5 separate regions of the Homo sapiens genome follow, and all the other regions are linked to region 1. The links are contacts of gene promoters, found by promoter capture Hi-C in human tissues and cell types (Jung and others, 2019). All regions are on one chromosome and are shown on one strand. The core of a region is centred on a gene start or on the middle of the fragment in contact, and the rest is flanking DNA. Distances in the headings are between cores, read along the strand shown. Region 1 holds the start of INTS9 (integrator complex subunit 9). Region 2 overlaps DUSP4 (dual specificity phosphatase 4). Region 3 overlaps KIF13B (kinesin family member 13B). Region 4 overlaps KIF13B (kinesin family member 13B). Region 5 overlaps KIF13B (kinesin family member 13B).

Region 1 (3,797 bases), core at 851-3,350:
CAATCCCCGGTTTCATATTTCTAAATAAATTAAGCAGGAGGATTTTATGAGCAAACTAAAATATATGTAAAGTAAACCCTGGCTTTTTGATACCCTCACTAATGAGTTGTTATGGGAAAAACTATTTCACACTTCCCTGCCTTCTTAAACTGAACACATTAAATATAATTTGCTCTTTATTGAGAACACAGGGTCCATGCTTTAGCCAATAAGGTACCAAGCTCTTATGCTCCTATAAGCTGACCTCTTTCATGGAAGGCCCTGGCTTACTTATCCTTATCAGTTCAAGAGTCACGTTTCCAGGAAGCTGTCCCCTGACCTCCCCAATCCTCTGTTCTCTGAATTCCCAAAACCCTGAACACGCCTCTATTTCACCATGAACACAGTGAATTATAATTTCGGACCAGGCATGGTGGCTCATGCCTGTAATTCCAGCACTTTGGAAGGTTGAGGTGGGCAGATACCTTGAACCCAGGAGTTTGAGACCAGCCTGGGCAACATGGTTAAACCCCATTTCTACAAAAAAAATAAGCAGGGTGCAGTGGTGCGCGCCTGTATTCCCAGCTATATGGGGAGACTGACGCGGCGAGAGGATCGCTTGAGTCCGAAAGGTGGAGGTAGCAGCGAGCTGAGAACGCGCCACTGCACTTCAGTCTGGGCCCCACAAAGCCAGACCCTGTCTCTAAATAAATAAATAATAACTTTGGTTTACTTTTCTATCTTCTTCTTAGGTTGCATGCTTCTGTAGGGCAACGGCTATGACTTTTAATTCTGCATTATTAAATGTGTAACACACTGACCCAGGGGTAAGTTGCTATTCTCAAGGTTTAGTGACCCGCATCCTTCCCCTTATATAAACAGATTTATACGGGGACAATTTCGGAATTGAATCCACTTTTAATACTTTCTCTGACTTCGCAGAAAACAGCTGGCTTTGCAGAATATATGCCTGTAGCACAATGATTATCAAGATGAGGGTAGGTGTGTTGTGTGGTTTGGCAAAGCATGTTCAGATAATTATATAAATGGTAAAAAATAAACTTTTTTTTTTTTTGAGACAGAGTCTCGCGCTGTTGCAAGGCTGGAGTGCAGTGGCGCGATCTTGGCTTACTGCAACCTCTGCCTCCCGGGTTCAAGCGATTCTCCTGCCTCAAGTAAAGCTTGACAATAACTTGGCTGCACAAATATGGGTTTTAAAAGGTTGAGAAACAGTGTTTCACACCTGCCTTTCTACACTATGTTATTAACTAATTGAATCGAGTTGGAATAAACTAGTTAGACTTGTGTGCACAATGAGTCAAATGGCTCAAATCAAAGGTCTGAGGAGCCTCCATGAACCAGGTGCTTGAGCTGTGTGATGTTAAGACTTCAGGTATACCGAGCACGCTTCATTCAGCCTTGGCTCATGAAGTCCCTACAGTCTTAGAATGGAATACCATATAACACTTCTCTGCCCATCTAAATCCCATGCAGGGTTTAAGACTCAACTTCTCCACACTCTGACCTCGTCCTGAATTCCAAGGGCAGTGAGGAGTCTATATAACAGGATATTTAATAAGTGATTACGTTCTGCTGGATGTTTTTTACTGTCTGCTTAAATCTAGCCAGTCTCAACAACAGTAGGGAGACAGGATACTCAAGCGCCAATCGAATGGAAACGGATTGTTAACAGCCTATTATAACCCTCACGTGGGAACCAGGACGTCCAAACCTGGTTAACAGAGCCCACAGAGTTCATGGGCGAAGGACTGTGACAGTCAACCTCTTGTCTGAACAAAAAGACCCACTAACGAGTGAAAAAAGACCTCCTGGGAGGGATGGGGTGGGGGAGAGGGAATTCAAACCTTCTCAACAACAAAAAGCAGCTTTCCTTAGCCCACTCCACTTTCCAGCTCAATAATTGCTACCCCTCCCGTGCGACGATTCCCTGCCCAACGTAGGAAAAAAAGAGGTCCAAAAGGTTATAGCATCACCTTTGCCCTCTGACCTAGGAGCGAAGACTCACCAGTTTCATAATGGACTTTTGGTGGTTCAATAGCAGTCACTGAACTCCTCAAACCCAGGAAGCGTCTTCCGGTGCAATCTCCGCCACCTGCCAGCCGAGAGCATCGCGGGACTTGCAGTCTTTCATCCTCACGTCCCTTCCAGGGGAATAATGGGAAATGTAGTCTCCCCTCCAGGCATCATGGGAACTGTGGTCGCCTTTCCTTTTCCTCCCTTTCCTCTCCGAACGCCTCCTTCCGTCAGCTCAAATTCATCCCAGCCGCCAATGCATCCTCCCTCTCCACCCCAGCATGATATCATGTCTTCCTTACGGGCCTGGGGCCCATGGTGTTCTGGGATGTGTAGTCCCGACGGCTCCGACTCCCCTTTCCCTCCTCCCAAAGGGAAGGCGGATGGGCACGGGGCTTGCCGGAAGTTGTAGTTCCCTTGGCCCTCTAGGCGCCGGGCTCCGCAATTTTTCTCAGGGGAGGCAGGAACTACAACTCCCAGGGACGCCCGGCGGCAGCAGGTGGGAGAGGGGCTGTTGATATCAATATGGCGGTTGTCAGCCAGACAAAGACAGTCAGTCTGATGTGATTGAGACAAGGGAGGTTTTTCAGGGGGAGACTGGGAGATAGGGGCCTCCCCTCCCCCTTCTCCTCTTCCTGCGCCGGCCTCAACCCCTCCCCAGTCCCCTCCCGACGGGCGCCCCACGCGGAAGACACCCCTCCCCCTCCCGCCTTCCCTCCTCCCTATCTCAGCCCTTCGTACTGGGACGTTGGGGAGGGGGCTGTGCCGGGCGGAGAGAACTCAGCGAGGATTCTGAGGTGAGTCGAGCGGTTTTGAAGCCGGACTACCTCAAGTCTCTTTCCTCACTTCTTTCTCTTCACTTAAAACAATTTTTTTGGAGGGGTTTTGGGGAGGAAGTGAGCGGACGCTGGGGATGGGTCTCGTAAGCGGCCGGATTGAGAGGAGGGAGGAAGCAGGGGGCTTCCGAGTGGGTGACCCAGACGCGGGCTGTGGGGTGGGGCAGTTCGTGGGGTCCGGTCCTGGAAAGGCGTCGACTGCCCCCCAACTCTTCTGGTTTCCTCTACGATGAGCGGAAGGTTTGAATCCTGGAGGTGGGGTCTCCGGTGTGGAGTTCTGGAAACTGTGAGGTGATTTGCAGGTGTGTTGGTTTGTTTGGGGTGTGTAAGTGTGTTTAAACTGTGTGACGTGTACTTGTGTGCTCTGCTCGTCTTGGAGCGGTGTCTGTAGATGGGAAGTTAGACAGCGCGAGTCCTCGCTCGCTCTGGGCCTGGGCTGAGGGGCGGGCGTGAGGTCCTGGTGCTGGGCGTTTGGGCTGGCGACGTGGTGCGAGGCGGCCGGGCTCAACAACTCGCTTGTGTCCCGTCGCCCGCTCACACTCTGCCACTCGCCTCCGCCCCCTCCCCTGGACGAATCTCCACCCCAAACTCCAGCCACGAGAACTGTAGAGATGGTGTGATGTGGAGATGGATTTTTTGCATCCTCAAGTCGGTAGATAGGTGGGAAAGGAAAAGTGTTTCTTAATATTTTATTCCGGAACCGTGTTTTGGTTACACTATTGGGGCTACTTTGAAAGGCGTCCTCCACCCACCTTCACCCCGAAACAGTAGGTAGAGGTATCTTGTCTTCGTGTGAATTAGATGAATAATTGCTGAAGATTCGGGGGGCCTGGGGTGGGGGTCGGGAGTGCTGGATTGTGTACGCGTCTGTGTGTGTCTACTAAGGAGACGGAATGTCTGTTATGTATCTGGAGATAGGGCGACTTATTTTCGTAGCAGGAGGAACTG
Region 2 (3,797 bases), core at 929-3,428, 450 kb after region 1:
TAGGCAGGTCTCTAGAATGCCCCCAATTCTGAGGTCTATTTTCCCGAATCACTATGCTGAAGCTGGTTAAATCCTATTATCTGTTCAAGGATTTCCCTTTGCAGAAACAAAACAGTGGGGTCCAGGGTGGTGGCTCACTCCTGTAATCCCAGCGCTTTGGGAGGCCAAGGAGGGTGGATAACTTGAGCTCAGGAGTTCAAGACTAGCCTGGGCAATATGATGAAACTGTCTCTACAAAAATACAAAAATTAGCTGGGCGTGGTGGTGCACTTGTAGTCCCAGCTACTCCAGAGGCTGAGGCAGGAGAATCACTTGCACCCCAGAAGCGGAGGTTGCAGTGAGCTGAGATGGCGCCACTGCACTCCAGCCTGGGCAACAGAGCAAGGCTCTGTCTCAAAATAAATAAATAAATAGAAATAAAATAAAAACTATGACTCAATGCTCCTTGTGTCTTCCTCCCCGTCCAAAAACTCTTACCATCTAGGCACTGAAGCCATGCAAGGGGAAGGGGACTGGCTCTGCAAGCTAAGCCTGTGTGTAGGTCCATCTTCCCTCCTCCCTCCCAACCCAACATCCAATGTATAAGCCTTCCCAATGAGGAAGAGGGGGAATGGGGACCCTTGGATTCAGTGCCTCCAATGTCCACCTTCAACCCAGGCTTACAGGGGTTCCTTATCCTTCCCACCCGCCCTCAAACCCAGGAACCCCAGAGCAGGGCCAGCCTACCGATGTACTCTATGGCTTCCATGAACCAGGAGCTGATGTCGGCCTTGTGGTTATCTTCCACTGGGATGCACTTGTACTGATAGTGTCCTTCAAAGTGGTTTGGGCAGTCCGAGGAGACATTCAACAGAGCCGTGATGCCCAGGGCGTCCAGCATGTCTCTCCGGGCAGCATGGTAGGCACTGCCGAGGTAGAGGAAGGGAAGGATCTCCACAGGACCCCCCTGCACAGAAAGGGAAACAAAGGCCCCTGAATGACATGAGGGTAAAGTGCTTGGCACAGGGAGTGGAAGCTTGTCTGAGAAGAGCTTTCCTTTCCAAACCCAGGGAGAATGCCTGCTGGGCCTGGCCCTCCCAGCCTCCCCCTGTAGCCTCCTGGAACTCTTGGAGGGGTGATAGGCCCAGTGGGACTTCTCCAGCCTTTGCCCTCTACTTGTGAGCAGAGAGGCCAGGGCAGGTAAAGTCTTGTGGGACTCTCCTGCACCTCCCCCATGGCAAAATAAGCGGCAGGACAATGCCGGCCTTATGGCACCATCTGTGACACTGAGTTTATATCTGCTAATCATCAAGCCATTTGCTGTGTGGTTTAGATACTTATTTGTTTTGATATGTATTCACTGGGCATATCAAAAACAGGTGTGCAGTGGCTCACACCTGTAATCTCAGCACTTTAGGAGGCTGAGGTGGCAGGATCATGTGAGCCAGGAGTTCCAAGACCAGCATGGGCAACACAGTGAGACCTCATCTCTCAAACAATGAAGCTGGCATGATGGTGCACACCTGTAGTCTCAGTTGCTTGGGAGGCTGAAATGGGAGGATCATTTGAGCCCAGGACTTTGAAGCTGCAGTGAGCTATGATTGCGCCACAGGACTCAAGCCTGGGTAACAGAGTGAGACTCTGTCTCTAAAAATAAACAAATAAATAAGCTGATGCCCTCATGGCCACACAGACAAGAGAGAGGATCTTGGCAAAATGAGGCAACAGTGGCTTAAATTTAGCACATGAGATGTGGGCAGCAGAGTCCATCTAACTGAAAGGGCTGGAGGGTGGGCTTATAAGAAACACAGTGGCTCAAGCAGGTTTTCTTGGAGGGAGGGTGGGTGACCATCTATGTTCATTCGGCTGATACGTGGGAGCAGCCTGCCTGTCGGGGACTGAGATGTATTTCATGGCCTGCTACTTCAGAGGAGAATGACCTCAGCTTCCCAGAGAGCAGGTCCCCCAGGGCTTCTGGAGGCCTCCTCACTTGTCCGGACACGACGTTAGAGGCCAAGCCAGGGAGTCATGTCTTTAGACTTTTTTCTTAGGAGGATATTTAGAGAGGGAAGGGGAAGATTTCCAAGAAGTAAATAGGTCCTACCTAACATCCCACCCCAATACTCCGGGTTCACCGCATTCTCCCCAAATTGAGGCATAACATTCAAAGACTTAAAAAAATCTCAGGATTGGATGCAGTGGCTCACGCCTGTGATCCCAACACTTTGGGAGGCCAAAGCAGGAGGATCACTTGAGGCCAGGAGTTCAAGACCAGCCTGGGCAACATAGCAAGACCCCCCCCCCCCATCTCTACCAAAAACCTTTTAAAATTAGCCAGGCATGGTAGTGCCACCTGTAGTCCCAGCTACCAGGGAGGATCCCTTGAGCCCAGGAGTTCGAGGCTGCAGTAAGCTATGATCACACCACTGCACTCCTGGGTGACAGAGCAAGACTGTCTCAAAAGCAAAGACAAAAAACACCGTCAGAACTCTGAAAAGAAGGCATCCACTGGCCCCTACGCTGTTCCTGCCCCCCACTTCCAAGCCCTGCCCCCCGAGTCTACCTGGTCGTGTAGTGGGGTCCCACAGGAGCTGCAGCCCAGGTCCAAGGGCTCTGTGGCACTGGGGGGAACCGGGGGTGGGATGGCTGCCAGGGCCTTGGTTTTAGAACAGAATTCTGGGTACTCGGAGGAAAACCTCTCATAGCCGCCTGTAAAGGAGAAAGAAGCTCAGGTTAATGGGGTCACTAAGCCAGCAGGAAGTCAGAAAGAACTCGACTCCTACAGACTCAGGCGGACTGCTAGGAAGGCAGGGGCTGGCGTGCTCCATATTGGCCACTAGGTGGCGCTGTGGACCTAGAGAATGGCCATGGAGTGGTTTCCAGAGATGCAGAGGACACACTCGTCAGGACTGCAGCAAAGCTGGAAGGATAAGCTTTATGGACAAGACTTGGGTTAGAGAGGTAGACATACAAAGGAAGACGTGCAGGGGGATGTGCAGAAGTGACTGTGGAGTAGCTCCTCAGGACAATGACAAAATAGAGAAGCAAAGGTCACGCTGGGCTTCCAAGGACACTAAGTACCTGTAGAGACACCTGCCACCCCTGATTCCAGCCCTTCCTCAGGGGAGGTTCTCCAATGTGAGAAAGAAGGGAAAAAATGACCCTGGTACAAACTCTTCTGGATCTCAGCAATGGAACAGATGTCCATTGCACGTCCTCATGAATAGCTGTTCCGTCACCAAGAGACCAGAACAAGAGGAAAACGGGCTTAAATCTAAATAAACCCCTCATGCTATGTACAGGTTTGGGGCAAGGGAGTATTTCCTGACCTGAGAGTGGGTAAGCCCTGGAATGGTTATCTGTGGGATCATCTTCCAGAGAAGGGAGATCTTTTAAATAAAAAAAGAAGATGATGATAAATGGCCAGCTGAGCTGGGGTAGGGTGAGTGCTCCTATCTAGGAGGGGTGGAGGCAGGTGGGATACAGGGAGAGGCCACAGGGAGGCCATCCAAAAAGACAACCTTTCAAGCCCTATCTCTGGCTTTCTTGTGATCTCTGGGACTTCCTTTTGCGGCCAACTTCCAATCCACAGTGCTATCAATGTATGGCCCTGCTTTTATTTTTATTTTACAGTGTCTGTAGGGCCAGAAATGGATTCAATTGATTCAGTAGGGCCTGTGCGTTGGAGAACCACCATTCCAACAAACCCATTCAACTGACTCCAATGACAATTTGGCCAACAGTCCTGGATGTCGCTACCTTTGCGGTCTTCATGACAGTGACATAGGACCTCTGTGCCCTAGGGCCATTGATAGAAA
Region 3 (3,797 bases), core at 352-2,851, 330 kb after region 1:
CATCATCAGGACTGCATTTTCTCTCCAGGACCTGTTGCTCCGGTGGCTCCACGCTCCCTGCATGAGTTGCATTATGTTTGTTTCCCTGCTCTTTCCCGTCCTCATGAAGCCCTGTCTTCTGAGTTAGGCTAACATCCTGGAGGAAACATGTTCTAGCCTCCAAGTAGAGTGAGTGGTATGTGGGGAAGGGGAGGGAAGATAGAGGGCAGAAAAGACTTTTCCAACCTACCTAACAAACAAGCAAAATATGGCAAATTTGGGGCAACACCTGGAGTAGGGAGGGAGGCAATAGGAACTGTCTTAGAGAAGAAAAAATAATTCTTTCATTATTTCATGTCCCAGGATCGATCGAACCAACTCTATAGAACAGTATGCCGACCAGGTGTGGTGGCTCACAACTATAATGCCAGCACTTTAGGAGGCTGAGGAGGGAGGATCGCTTGAGCTCAAGAATTCAAGGACCAGCTTGAGCAACGTAGGGAGACCCTGTCTTTACCAAAAATTCTTTTTTAATTAGCCAGGCACGATGGCATGCGTCTGTTGTCCCAGCTACTCAGGAGGCTGAGGCAGGAGGATTGTATGAACCTAGTAGGTCGAGGCTGCAGTCAGCCGTGATGGCACCACTGCACTCCAGCAGGGACGACAAGGTGAGACCCTTTTTAATAAGAGTATGCCTTCCAAGTTTATGGTATTTGTCAACTAAGCTAAAGATGTTTTGAAGAAAGCAACGGGAATCTTTGAATGCTTGAAGGACAACGACAAAAAGTTTTAAAGTATTAAAAGCTTTGAAAGCAAATTTATAATCTTGGTGGAAAAAAGTAAATGAGGATATGAATTGTAATTTTAAAACTAAATTGCACACACATACAGGTAACTAGTATTGCCTATAGGAGGTATATCTGAAAATTTGTTTTGTGTATTCATCTTCATACATGGGTGTGTATGTAGATAAACAGACAATACACCCAATACTGATCACCTCTTTCCCAGCGGAGATGAAGGGAGATTTGCCTGAAAAAACTGTTCACCTGCTCGTTTAAAGTTGTTAAATTATTTTTTAAGTCTCTATTTTTAATTGCTTTAATAATAATAATAGAGGCTACCTTTTTTAAACTGCTAAACGTCAAATACCTGGTACACTTTAATACACCAACCCTACAAGGTAGGTCTTATCCTCTCCACTTTGTAGAGTAATAAGGAAGGCATATCACAAACAGGTTAAATAATTTGTTCAGTAACAAAGCTAGATTCAAACCTAGGTCTCTCATTCTAAAGCCACGTACTAGGCCGGGCGCAGTGGCTGATGCCTGTAATCCTAGCACTTTGGGAGGCCAAGGCAGGCAGATCACTTGAGGTCAGGAGTTCAAAACCAGCCTGGCCAACATGGTGAAACCCCACCTCTACTAAAAACACAAAATATTTAGCTGGGCATGGTGGCGGGTGCCTGTAGTCCCAGCTACTTGGGAGGCTGAGGCAGGAGAATCATTTGAACCTGGGAGTAAAAGGTTGCAGTGAGCCGAGATCCTGCCACTGTACTCCAACCTGGGTGACAAAGTGAGACTCTGTCTCAAAAAAGATTTTTTTAATTAAAAAAAAAATACAACTATGTTCTTTCTACTTTAATATTTTGCCCTCCCACCCATGGCAAATGATACAGGAGAAGAAATTAAAGACAACTTTGTAGCAGAAAACTAAATGAAAAGATGCTTGTTTCAAATTATCTTATTTGGACTGTTGTTTTTCCCTTGCCTTCAAATAAAGTGGGCAGCCTGAGACTGGGCTATGACCTAGGGAAACCTATGTGACTAAGGCTAAGCTGTGGCGCAGGGCTGAAGCTATGTGAGCTTCAGGTTCCCCGTGCAAATCTTGCCTAGAGGAAACCTGCCCTTTCTCCATATCTGGGCCTGTGTCCATCGACGTATATTCAGTCCAAAAAAAAAAAAAACTTTGTCTTAAGTGCACTGTAAGTGTTAGGGAAAGAATACTTATTCCTCGTTCCTCATGTTTCCATGTGGAAGAACCGAAAGTAGTACTTCTGATGTCCCTAAGCTGTCTCACTCTACCTCTTAGTAGAGGATACGTGAACTATCAAATTAGTGGTACTCAAGAGAAGGAAATGAGTACACACAGGCTGTGCTCCCCCACCCTGTAGAGGAGGCCTGCAACTGTCCGGCCTGCCTGTGCCTGCTAAGTGTGTCACTCAAGGGTGAGGGGTCAGCAAGCCTACTTGGCCAACAGACAGAAAGCCATTTTCTCTTACAGCTTTATCCGTAACTAAGGTGAAATGAGACAGAGGAAAACACAGTGGCGAAGACTGGGCTCAGGAACTGAATTGCCTGGTTGTGAATCCCAGCCCCACCACTTACTATGTGACCTTGGGCAACTAATCTAACTTCTCCAGGCTTCAGTTTCCTGCTCTATAAAATGTAGCCAACAAGAGAGCCTATTTCATGGGATTGCTATGAAGATTAGAACAGTGCCTGGCACATAATAAGCATTCAGTGTTAGTGTCTTTATTATTTATTTCTTCTATCTCACTGATCCTTGTGATAATCTCAGTTCAAAACTAGGAGGGGGAAGAAAGGGGAGCTGAACAAAGAGAAAGAATTTCTTTCAAAAGTAAGAGAGAACATCTTTTAGCTACAGCAGCAAGATGATGCAAATGTCTTATGTTACTTTTTGGTGAACTAGTTTGGAGAAAACTCCAGAATAACAGCAGGTCCAGAAGACAAAGCACTAAGGTGCCCAGTTCAAAACCTCCCCCACCATACTCCACCAACTAGAAATTAATTTGCAATGTCATGGTTTTTTCCAGTGTGGGGGGCTATCAGGACACCCCCCCACAAGATGGTTCATTATAATTTTCCATATTAATCAGCTCTATCACTCACTAATATTCAGTGTGAGAGTTTGGTGCTTTTCCTAAAACCACCTCTGCTCTCTACTTAGTATGGGTGTCAACTGATTCCCCTTTGAACATCTTAAACCTGTTTCCTACATGTGAAATACTCTACGTGTCTAGGGACATATAAGCACCGTTACACTGTGCTTATTGGATGGGATAAGAGAATTACAGTAATTAAGGATGAAAATACAAGGTTCCTGAACACCTTTAACATCTATTACATGTCATCAGCCACTTACAGGTGATCCTGCTGCCTCCACACCAGCTCCTGCAATGGAAATCCTCAGCACCTAAATTTAGCCCAGTGCCTGCCAAATTGTAGGCATTCAGTGAATGTTTATTGAAATCAGAGCCTAGGAATTAGGTTAACCATGACTACAACCTGTCTAAAAAAATAGCTTTCCTCATAAGCCGCACCTCAAATGTCCAGACGCCACTTTTCCTACGTCTGTTCTCTGTCAACATCTTGTCCTTGCTGTACTGTTAGACATGAGACCTTAAACTATGCATTTCCTTAAGAAACCATGAGCTAAAAATTAAAAAGAGACAGAAGATGTTAGTTTAAAAGTATTCCTCACCAAATCCCAGGCAACAGCTCTATAACAGCAGGTCTAGAGAACAACCAGAAGGCAGAAGATTCTAAGATACAGAGCTTTGGAGGAAATTAATAGAATGGCACGGCTAAGAATTTGCAAACAAAAATTTAAGAATATGCTAAAGACAGAACCAGAAAACACAAATAAAACTGCAGAAAAAACAAAAAGCTGTTAAGAGAGTCATGGATTATATAAAGCAAACAAAAACGTGGTATACTCTGATGCAACTGATGGGATTTAGGGAAAGATAATTTATTTCAACTTTATGCTATGAGCCATCACAGTGCCCTGCACTC
Region 4 (3,797 bases), core at 648-3,147, 300 kb after region 1:
CCAAGCAATCGTGTAAGGGAAAAAATACTGAACCCCTCTTCTACACCATCAGTAGTTGACAGGATGCTGGATTCTATTACCTGCATACTTTTCTTTGACAGATTCATCCATAGACCAGAAACAATGATCATAAGCAAACACCTGTTGAAAATGAACATAAGTGTGTGTTAAGAAAACCTCAACATTACTTATAAACCATAACTGATAGAACTGTTCATAATAGTGAAATAAAACAACTTACTGTCATACAATGGGAATTAATTATGTATGTAGAGGCTTACAATGAGAACTAAACATGCTATAGGTGATATGACTCTATATTTTACATGGAAAACTATTCACAAAATGTGTAATAAAATGGCTATTGCACACACACATGCACCTACAGTCACACACACAGAATTACATCTATAGTTTATTTTTTTGCAGCGAAATTAGTGATCTGTTTCATGTTTTTATATTTTTTCAATATTTTTATTTTTGTAGTCAAAGAAAAAGATATTTTTTAAATAACATTTAAAGATGCTCACTATAGCATGTCCAAAATAGCTTAAAATAGCAGAATGTTTACATAAATTATGACATGCCCATGTGCAAGTATAGATTTGAGGGTATAGAAGACTTACTAATTTAAAAAAAGTTTATGTTAATGAAAAAGTTATAAAAGTCTAGAGTATGATTCCATATTTGTACCAAAAAACTATATGCATAAAAAGCAGGAACAATCTGTATTAAAATGCTACTTGGTGGGATCTTACAGATGATCTGTTTTGATCTTTCACCTTATCACCACTTTCTAGAATATCACATAGTTCTTTTGCACTGTTTGAAAAGCTTCTTTTTCACTAATTATTTCTTTTTAAACCAACTAAGCAAAGGCAAATTTTTCACTGACTGCATCTTTCACTTTTTCGATTTCTGTCAGTTTGAAATCTACTTACTTGTGTTTTGTGATTTTTATCTCCGTAAAGATTTTAAGTGCAATTGTTTTAAAATGTATCTCGGTTCACATTTTGTCACATTCTCCCACTTTGGGAGTCTGTTGCTATGCTTCCTGATGATGGTTTGCATGTTAGTTTGCAGGTACATCTTAGCAGGGAGTGTTTATTTTATGGTTTACATGATTGCTTATTTTTTCCTCTCCTGATGGCCACCTTTCCATGACTAGTTTATGCTGTCATTTCCATTACTGAAGCCCAGATTTTGGGTCTTCTCAAGGCCCAATGTCTCCATCCCTTCCTATTAACACAGACATTAGCTCAATGTTGGTGGCCAAAAACTGACTGTAAGCTTTCACTCACAGAGAAGGCTCGCCCAAATCAGTTTTCACATGGTGAGCCTGGCTCCAGTCCCCAACCATACACCAGTGCCCCCATTAGTCGGCAAGAGTTGAACTTCCAATCACCTCCAGGCACCTGGTCTGATTCCAAAGCCCTGGAAATATGTCACTTCAGCCCTCGCTTACTGCTGGTCCTTGAAGTTATATATGTTGTTGTTGTGTTTTTCTAGTTTTGTGTAGAGATGGGGTCTCACTATGTTGCCCAGGCTGGTCTCAGACTCCTGGCCTCAAGCAATCCTCTAGCCTCAGCCTCCCAAGTACTGAGATTACAGCTGTGAGCCACCATGCCCAGTCTAAATTTGTTTTTGAGTTTGATTACATGATTCGCACATTCTAAAATATTTTATCTATCTCTGCTATAATTTTGATGTTGGCAGGAGAATGTTTCTGTGTAAACTCACAAGATTATCTGGACCAGAAGTCTAAAAGGTTAATTTTTTTAAGAAAGAAAATTAGGTTAAGATGGTAAATTAATAATGCATACTGATATCCATCACCCAGCTAAAATTAACTCAAAACGACAGGCGATGGGGGAAGTGGGGAAATTGCCAAAAAGGAAGAGAAGGGGGAAAAAAGAACAAGGTTTTGAAACCAAGAGTGCTTGCTTGTGCCTGGATCAGAATTGAGAAACTCCTGAAAAAATAGTTCCAATGAAACTGATGGGGGTAAGGGTGGGGGCCTGCAGGGAGAGCACAGGCTGCAAAGCCAGTGAGCAGTTCTGGGAGGTACCAGAAGGGCAACTAAAGGGGGAGGCAGATAACCCTGGCAGCAACCGAGAGGACGACTGGCTCAGCACCTCTGGACAGGTGAGGATCGGCACACCTGCATCTCTGTGTGAAACAGCAGGCAGGGGAGACACCTGTTCCCTGGATGGGGCTGTGAGAAGGAAGCGAGGCCAGGAAGTGAAAGCAGACCCCCAGCGGCTGACAGCCCCTGAGAGCCCTTGGGCCCAGAAGACATCATCCAGCTGCAGTGTTGTGTTACACACTGCTCACCCTCCATGTTTTTCCAAAGCTAAAACGTATATCTATCAGCAGTGGTGGCTCACTAAGCCATTTTCAAACACAGAGGAGCAAAAGGAGGAGGATGGAAGATGGCCCCAAAGGACTGGGCATCAAACTGGGGGGAGCTGCCTTGCAAACTCCAGGTGTCACCCATAGTGAGAATCATTACAGCAGAGTAGGAGTAAATAAAATGTGGAGCTCAAACGAAGTTTCTCCTGTTCTAGCTTTCCACGCTTATCTCCATAATTTTATTTAATTAATTCTGTTCTTAATAAGGCTAAGTAAAAACCATCCTGATTCTTGTAAGCTTAGTTCTCACTTCAAAAGCCCTATCACATGTGTATACAGTCATCCCTCAGTATCCTGAGTGGGACTGCTTCCAGGACCTCCCATGAATACCAAAATCCACAGATGTGCAAGTCCTTATATAAAATGGTGTAGTATTTGCATAAAACCCACACATATCCTCCCATATACTTCAAATCATCTCTTGATTACTTAAAACACCTAAGACAAAGTAGATGCTATGTAAATAGTTGTCATACTGTACTGCTTTTTACATTTTTACTTTTTTTTGAGACGGAGTCTCGCTCTGTCGCCCAGGCTGGAGTGCAGTGGCGTGATCTCAGCTCACCGCAAGCTCCACCTCCCAGGTTCACGCCATTCTCCTGCCTCAGCCTCCTGAGTAGCTGGGACTACAGGCGCCCGCTACCACGCCTGGCTTTTTTTTTTTTTTTTGTATTTTTAGTAGAGACAGGGTTTCACTGTGTTAGCCAGGATGGTCTCAATCTCCTGGCCTCATGATCCGCTGGCCTCCGCCTCCCAAAGTGCTGGGATTACAGGCATGAGCCACCGCGCCCGGCCCTAAATTTTTACTTTTATTGTTGTATTATTTTTCATAGTTTTTTAAAAACTATTTTCAATCTGTGGTTGGTTGAACCACAGATGTGAAACCCACAGATACAGAAGGCCAACTGTATATTTATCAGAGATAGGTTCTAAATGGCACTCTCCTCTCCATTATTATTGGGTTTTTTTTTTTTTTTTACTTGTCTTTCTTTTAGGGATTTCTTTAACAGTGACATTTCTTATTCCCAATTTGAGTCGAGAGGCTATTCCCAAAGTAACCATAATGGAGCTAAGCCTGTGTGCTCGACACTGTTCAAAGGAACCTGAGGAAGAAAAAAGGTAAGTGCCTTACATCTAGCAGGTTGGGGTGCTAGGATTCCAGCCCACAGTCTGGCTCTAAGGTCCCTCCTCTGCACCACTAGGCTAGCCTAGCTCTATTCCCCAATATGAAAGTGCCACAGCCTGGCACAAAGTTGGGGACTAATAAACACTTACTTTTTATTTACTACAGCTCTAAATGGTCCTCTTTAAGGCTTAGCAATTTCGTAAATTATTATAGGTAACTTCCAGGCAAAGATTTCATAAACTGGACAAGTCTTTTCTTT
Region 5 (3,797 bases), core at 908-3,407, 270 kb after region 1:
GATCGGGAGAAGGGAAGGGGAGAGGAGGAAGTGAGGCACAGAAGAGGGCAGAGGGGAAGAGGGGAGGGGAGGCAGGGAGCCGGTGTGAGAAAGAAACTGTTGTAAGATTTTGGCTCTGGGTGGATGACTTCAGACAGAATTTAAGAACGCAGGGGTTCCACATATGCTGGGTACTGTCAGAAAGTGGGAGTAATCGTATGAATGGGTATTTCACAAAATCGTATCCATGGGTTCAGGCTAGAACAGAATAACGCTGCAACTGGTGAAGAAGTAGCAGTCACTCATACTGGTTCAGAGAAGGGTATTCTTTGGGTGGCACAGTGACCATGTTTTCATCTGCACTTAAACGCAACGATGACGTGGCCTGCTCTGTCTTATTGCATCCTGGTCTTGGAGAACCCTTGCCTGAGGCTGGGGTTCTGTGTGATTATTTATGGCCTCATTAGAGAACAGCACAACACAGCTGTGAGGGCCACACCAGCTTCTGCTCCTGTTTTCTCACTTGATCCTTCCCCAGAGCTTGATAGTCTCAATACTTGAAGACTTTATGGATAAAATCAGTGATATTAATGATTTTTTGACATCATAAAATGAAACAAATTAGCATTTGAAAGGTCAACATAATTCAGTTAACCACTGTCTCTAACAGTTACAGACTGTTATACTTCCAACTCTGTAACAGGGGATAACAGCTCTATAGCTGAAGGAAACAAAGTGACAAACGTGCCATTCATAAAATTTGGAGCCCCTTCATTCCTCCATGGTGTATTAAGTTCCTGTGTACTAGTCTCATATTATGCGCCAGGAATGGAGAATCAAAAAAAGAAAGGCCCTTGTCCTCAAGCAGCTCATGGTCTAATGGGGTAATAAGGGTTCACAGCCCACAGGCAGACACTAAGAAGCACTGCCACAACAGGGCGATGGTCCGATACCTCTTAAGGGCAGTGCATTCAGACCAAACAGTGACTCCCCACAGGAGAACATGGCAGCACTTAACCCTGCAGACCCAACAGGAGTTAGCAGGTCAAAGGATTGGCAGGTGCTGAGGAGGAGGAGATAAACTGGGGGGTTATAAGGGATTTTCTGTCACAAACAGAGGAAAGCCTTCTAGGGCTGTGGTGAGTGAACCAGGAGGCAGCTCGTGGTGTTGGCAGGGGCTCTGATCAAGACTTGATGAGGGCCTAAATACGTAAGGCCATGGCAGTGGGTATAGAGAGGAAGGAATGGGTGTGAGAGGCATTAAAGCTAAATGTAAGGGGCCCGCCCAACCAACTGGATTACTTAATGTGGTCAACTTAAAAGCAACAAAGGCCACTGTTGCCACTAGAGTACTTTCTTCCTCTGAAAAACTCTTGTGATATGAACACTAATTCAAGTATGTTACCTGGTGTTCTTCTGAGGAGTCAGCATAACCTGGCCTTCTGACGTGATGTCTATAATACAGTGTTCAGGAAGAATTCCCATGCCGCACAGTTGGATATCTTGGGAATTTGCTGACCCTATCAATGTATGTTCCTAAGAAAAAACCAAATTCACTGATTAATACTGTATTCTTACATATACACAATTGAAATCATTTACACTGAGCCCTCTTATATTGTCCTATTACCTTTGCGAAAATTTTTTTTATTTTTATTTTATTTTTGAGACAGAGTCTTGCTCTATCCCCCATGCTGGAAGGCAATGGTGCAATCTCAGCTCACTGCAACCTCCGCCTCCCAGGTTCAAGCGATTCTCCTGCCTCAGCCACCCGAGTAGCTGGGATTACAGGCATGCACCACCATGCCCAGCTCATTTTTTTGTATTTTTAGTACAGACAGGGTTTCACCATGTTGGCCAGGCTGGTCTCAAACTCCTGACCTCAAGTGATCCACCTGTCTTGGCCTCTCAAAGTGCTGGGATTACAGGTGTGAGTCACCATGCCTGGCCTAAAAGATTTTTTAAAAGCAAATGAAGCCAGGCATGGTTGAAACAAAAACAGGAAGGGAGCGAGATTTGGCCTGTGAAAAGCAGTTGGTTGACCCTGACCTAGACTAACTCACCTACTCCCATGGTTTTAAATGCCATCTACAAATAAACTACATCTCTATCACCACCCTAGAGCTACATACTTTAGTTCCGTTTTTTTCCCCACCTCCACAACCACTATCGCAGTCTTAGTCACTTATTTTTTATTTATTTATTTATTTTTGAGACAGGGTCTTTTTCTGTCACCCAGGCTGGAGTGCAGAGACACTATCCATGCTCACTAAACCTCACCTTCTTGGGCTCAAGCAATCTTCCTGTCTCAGCCTCTGAGTAGCTGAGATCACAGGCAGGCACCACCTTGACCAACTAATTTTTTTTTTTTTTTTTTTTTTGTAGAGACAGGGTCTCACTATGTTGCTCAGGTTGATCTCAAACTCCTGGGCTCAAGCAATCCTTCCACTTCACCCTCCTGAAGTACTGGGATGACATGTGTGAGCGACTGTGCCCAGCCTCAGCCACTATTATTTTCTGCCTACTCAGCCTACTTGACACAACTTGGATGTCTGAAGATATATCAAATGGAATAAGCGCCAAAGCTAAACTCTTGTTCCCATCTCCCCTAACCCAACAGAAGTCTATTTCCTTCTCCAATAATAATGGATGGCACTACCACCACCAGTCAGTCAACTGAAAAGCTTAGATATAATTCTTGAGTCCTCTTTCTTTCTCTTACAAGCCCATACCCACCCCATGTCAATCAGGGAAAACCTTACAGATTTTTCCTCCAAGGTCTATCAAGAATAAGCTTGTGATCCCCACCTCCATGACTACATCCTAGATTCAGCCTCCAGGATCTCTTGCCTGTGGATACAGGAGCTTCCTACTGTGTCTCCATTGCATGCCACTCCCTTCCACTCCTGCCACAACAGCTGGTCACACCATCCCCTATTTAAAACCTTCTAAGAGTGGGCATGGTAGCTTACACCTGTAATCCCAGCAATTTGGGAAGCCAAGGCAGGAGAATCGCTTGAACCTAGGAGATCAAGACCAGCCCGGGCAACACAGTGAGACCTCGTCTCTACCAAAAAAAAAAAAAAAAAAAAAAAATTGTGGCCAGGTGCGGTGGCTCATACCTGTGATCCCAGCACTTTGGGAGGCTGAGGTGGGTGGATCACTCAAAGTCAGGAGTTCAAGCCCAGCCTGGCCAACATGGTGAAACCTTGTCTCTACTAAGAATACAAAAAAATTAGCCAGGTGTGGTGGCACATGCCTATAATCATAGCTACTCGGGAGGCTGAGGCAGGAGAGTGGCTTGAACCTGGGAGGTGGAGGTTGCAGTGAGCTGAGATCGTGCCACTGCACTCCAGCCTGGGCGAAAGAGCAAGACTCCGTCTCAATAAATAAATAAATAAATATAAAAATGAGGCAGGAAGATTACTTGAGCCCAGGAGATTGAGGCTGCAATAAGCCATAATCGTACCACTGCACTCTCACCTGGGTGACAGAACAAGACCCTGCCTCAAAAAAAAAAAAAAAAAAAGTAAGAATAAAACCTTCTAGTGGCTTCTCTTTGAACTTCCAATAAAGCCCAAATTCTTACCCGGGCTTACAAAGCATTCTACAACCTGTCCCTGCCTGTCTCTGACCCTCACACTCACCATCTTCCCCTCACAGAGCATGTGCCAGCTACATCGGCCTCCCATCTGTTCTTTGAGCACACTGAGCCTATTTCCATCCTACTGCCTTTTACTAGCTGTTTCCTCCGTCTGAAATGTTCTTCCCCTGATCCTGACATGGGTCATTTCTTACCGTTTCTATCTCAGCTTTTA

What was found. Contacts are between HindIII fragments. The study calls those that stand out against the background at their distance.
Region 2: a fragment that was not itself captured here is called in contact with the fragment with the promoter of INTS9 in region 1 in 2 of the 25 tissues and cell types used here (dorsolateral prefrontal cortex and hippocampus).
Region 3: a fragment that was not itself captured here is called in contact with the fragment with the promoter of INTS9 in region 1 in 2 of the 25 tissues and cell types used here (dorsolateral prefrontal cortex and mesenchymal stem cells).
Region 4: a fragment that was not itself captured here is called in contact with the fragment with the promoter of INTS9 in region 1 in 2 of the 25 tissues and cell types used here (IMR-90 fibroblasts and aorta).
Region 5: a fragment that was not itself captured here is called in contact with the fragment with the promoter of INTS9 in region 1 in 2 of the 25 tissues and cell types used here (IMR-90 fibroblasts and lymphoblastoid cells).

The regions. Positions count from the first base shown.
Region 1 is chr8:28,887,869-28,891,665 of GRCh38, forward strand. It overlaps INTS9 (integrator complex subunit 9), which reads right to left and starts at 2,101. Exons shown (of 17, transcript NM_018250.4): 1 at 2,006-2,101. The coding sequence starts at 2,014. It overlaps HMBOX1 (homeobox containing 1), which reads left to right and starts at 2,527. Exons shown (of 10, transcript NM_001135726.3): 1 at 2,527-2,810. RefSeq lists enhancers at 1,884-2,440, 2,080-2,279, 2,441-2,997 and a silencer at 2,650-2,769. The HindIII fragment of the contact is 5,500 bases long and covers 1-3,797 here.
Region 2 is chr8:29,337,556-29,341,352 of GRCh38, forward strand. DUSP4 (dual specificity phosphatase 4) reads right to left here. Exons shown (of 4, transcript NM_001394.7): 2 at 2,543-2,688; 3 at 727-946. Among named protein-coding and RNA genes, the nearest start is that of DUSP4, 11 kb to the right of the region's middle. RefSeq lists an enhancer at 2,657-2,951. The HindIII fragment of the contact is 5,003 bases long and covers 1-3,797 here.
Region 3 is chr8:29,215,030-29,218,826 of GRCh38, forward strand. The region is part of intron 2 of KIF13B (kinesin family member 13B); the gene reads right to left. Among named protein-coding and RNA genes, the nearest start is that of KIF13B, 46 kb to the right of the region's middle. The HindIII fragment of the contact is 7,775 bases long and covers 1-3,797 here.
Region 4 is chr8:29,190,917-29,194,713 of GRCh38, forward strand. KIF13B (kinesin family member 13B) reads right to left here. Exons shown (of 40, transcript NM_015254.4): 4 at 81-141. Among named protein-coding and RNA genes, the nearest start is that of KIF13B, 70 kb to the right of the region's middle. The HindIII fragment of the contact is 5,738 bases long and covers 1-3,797 here.
Region 5 is chr8:29,154,342-29,158,138 of GRCh38, forward strand. It overlaps KIF13B (kinesin family member 13B), which reads right to left. Exons shown (of 40, transcript NM_015254.4): 14 at 1,385-1,515. Among named protein-coding and RNA genes, the nearest start is that of KIF13B, 110 kb to the right of the region's middle. The HindIII fragment of the contact is 4,521 bases long and covers 1-3,797 here.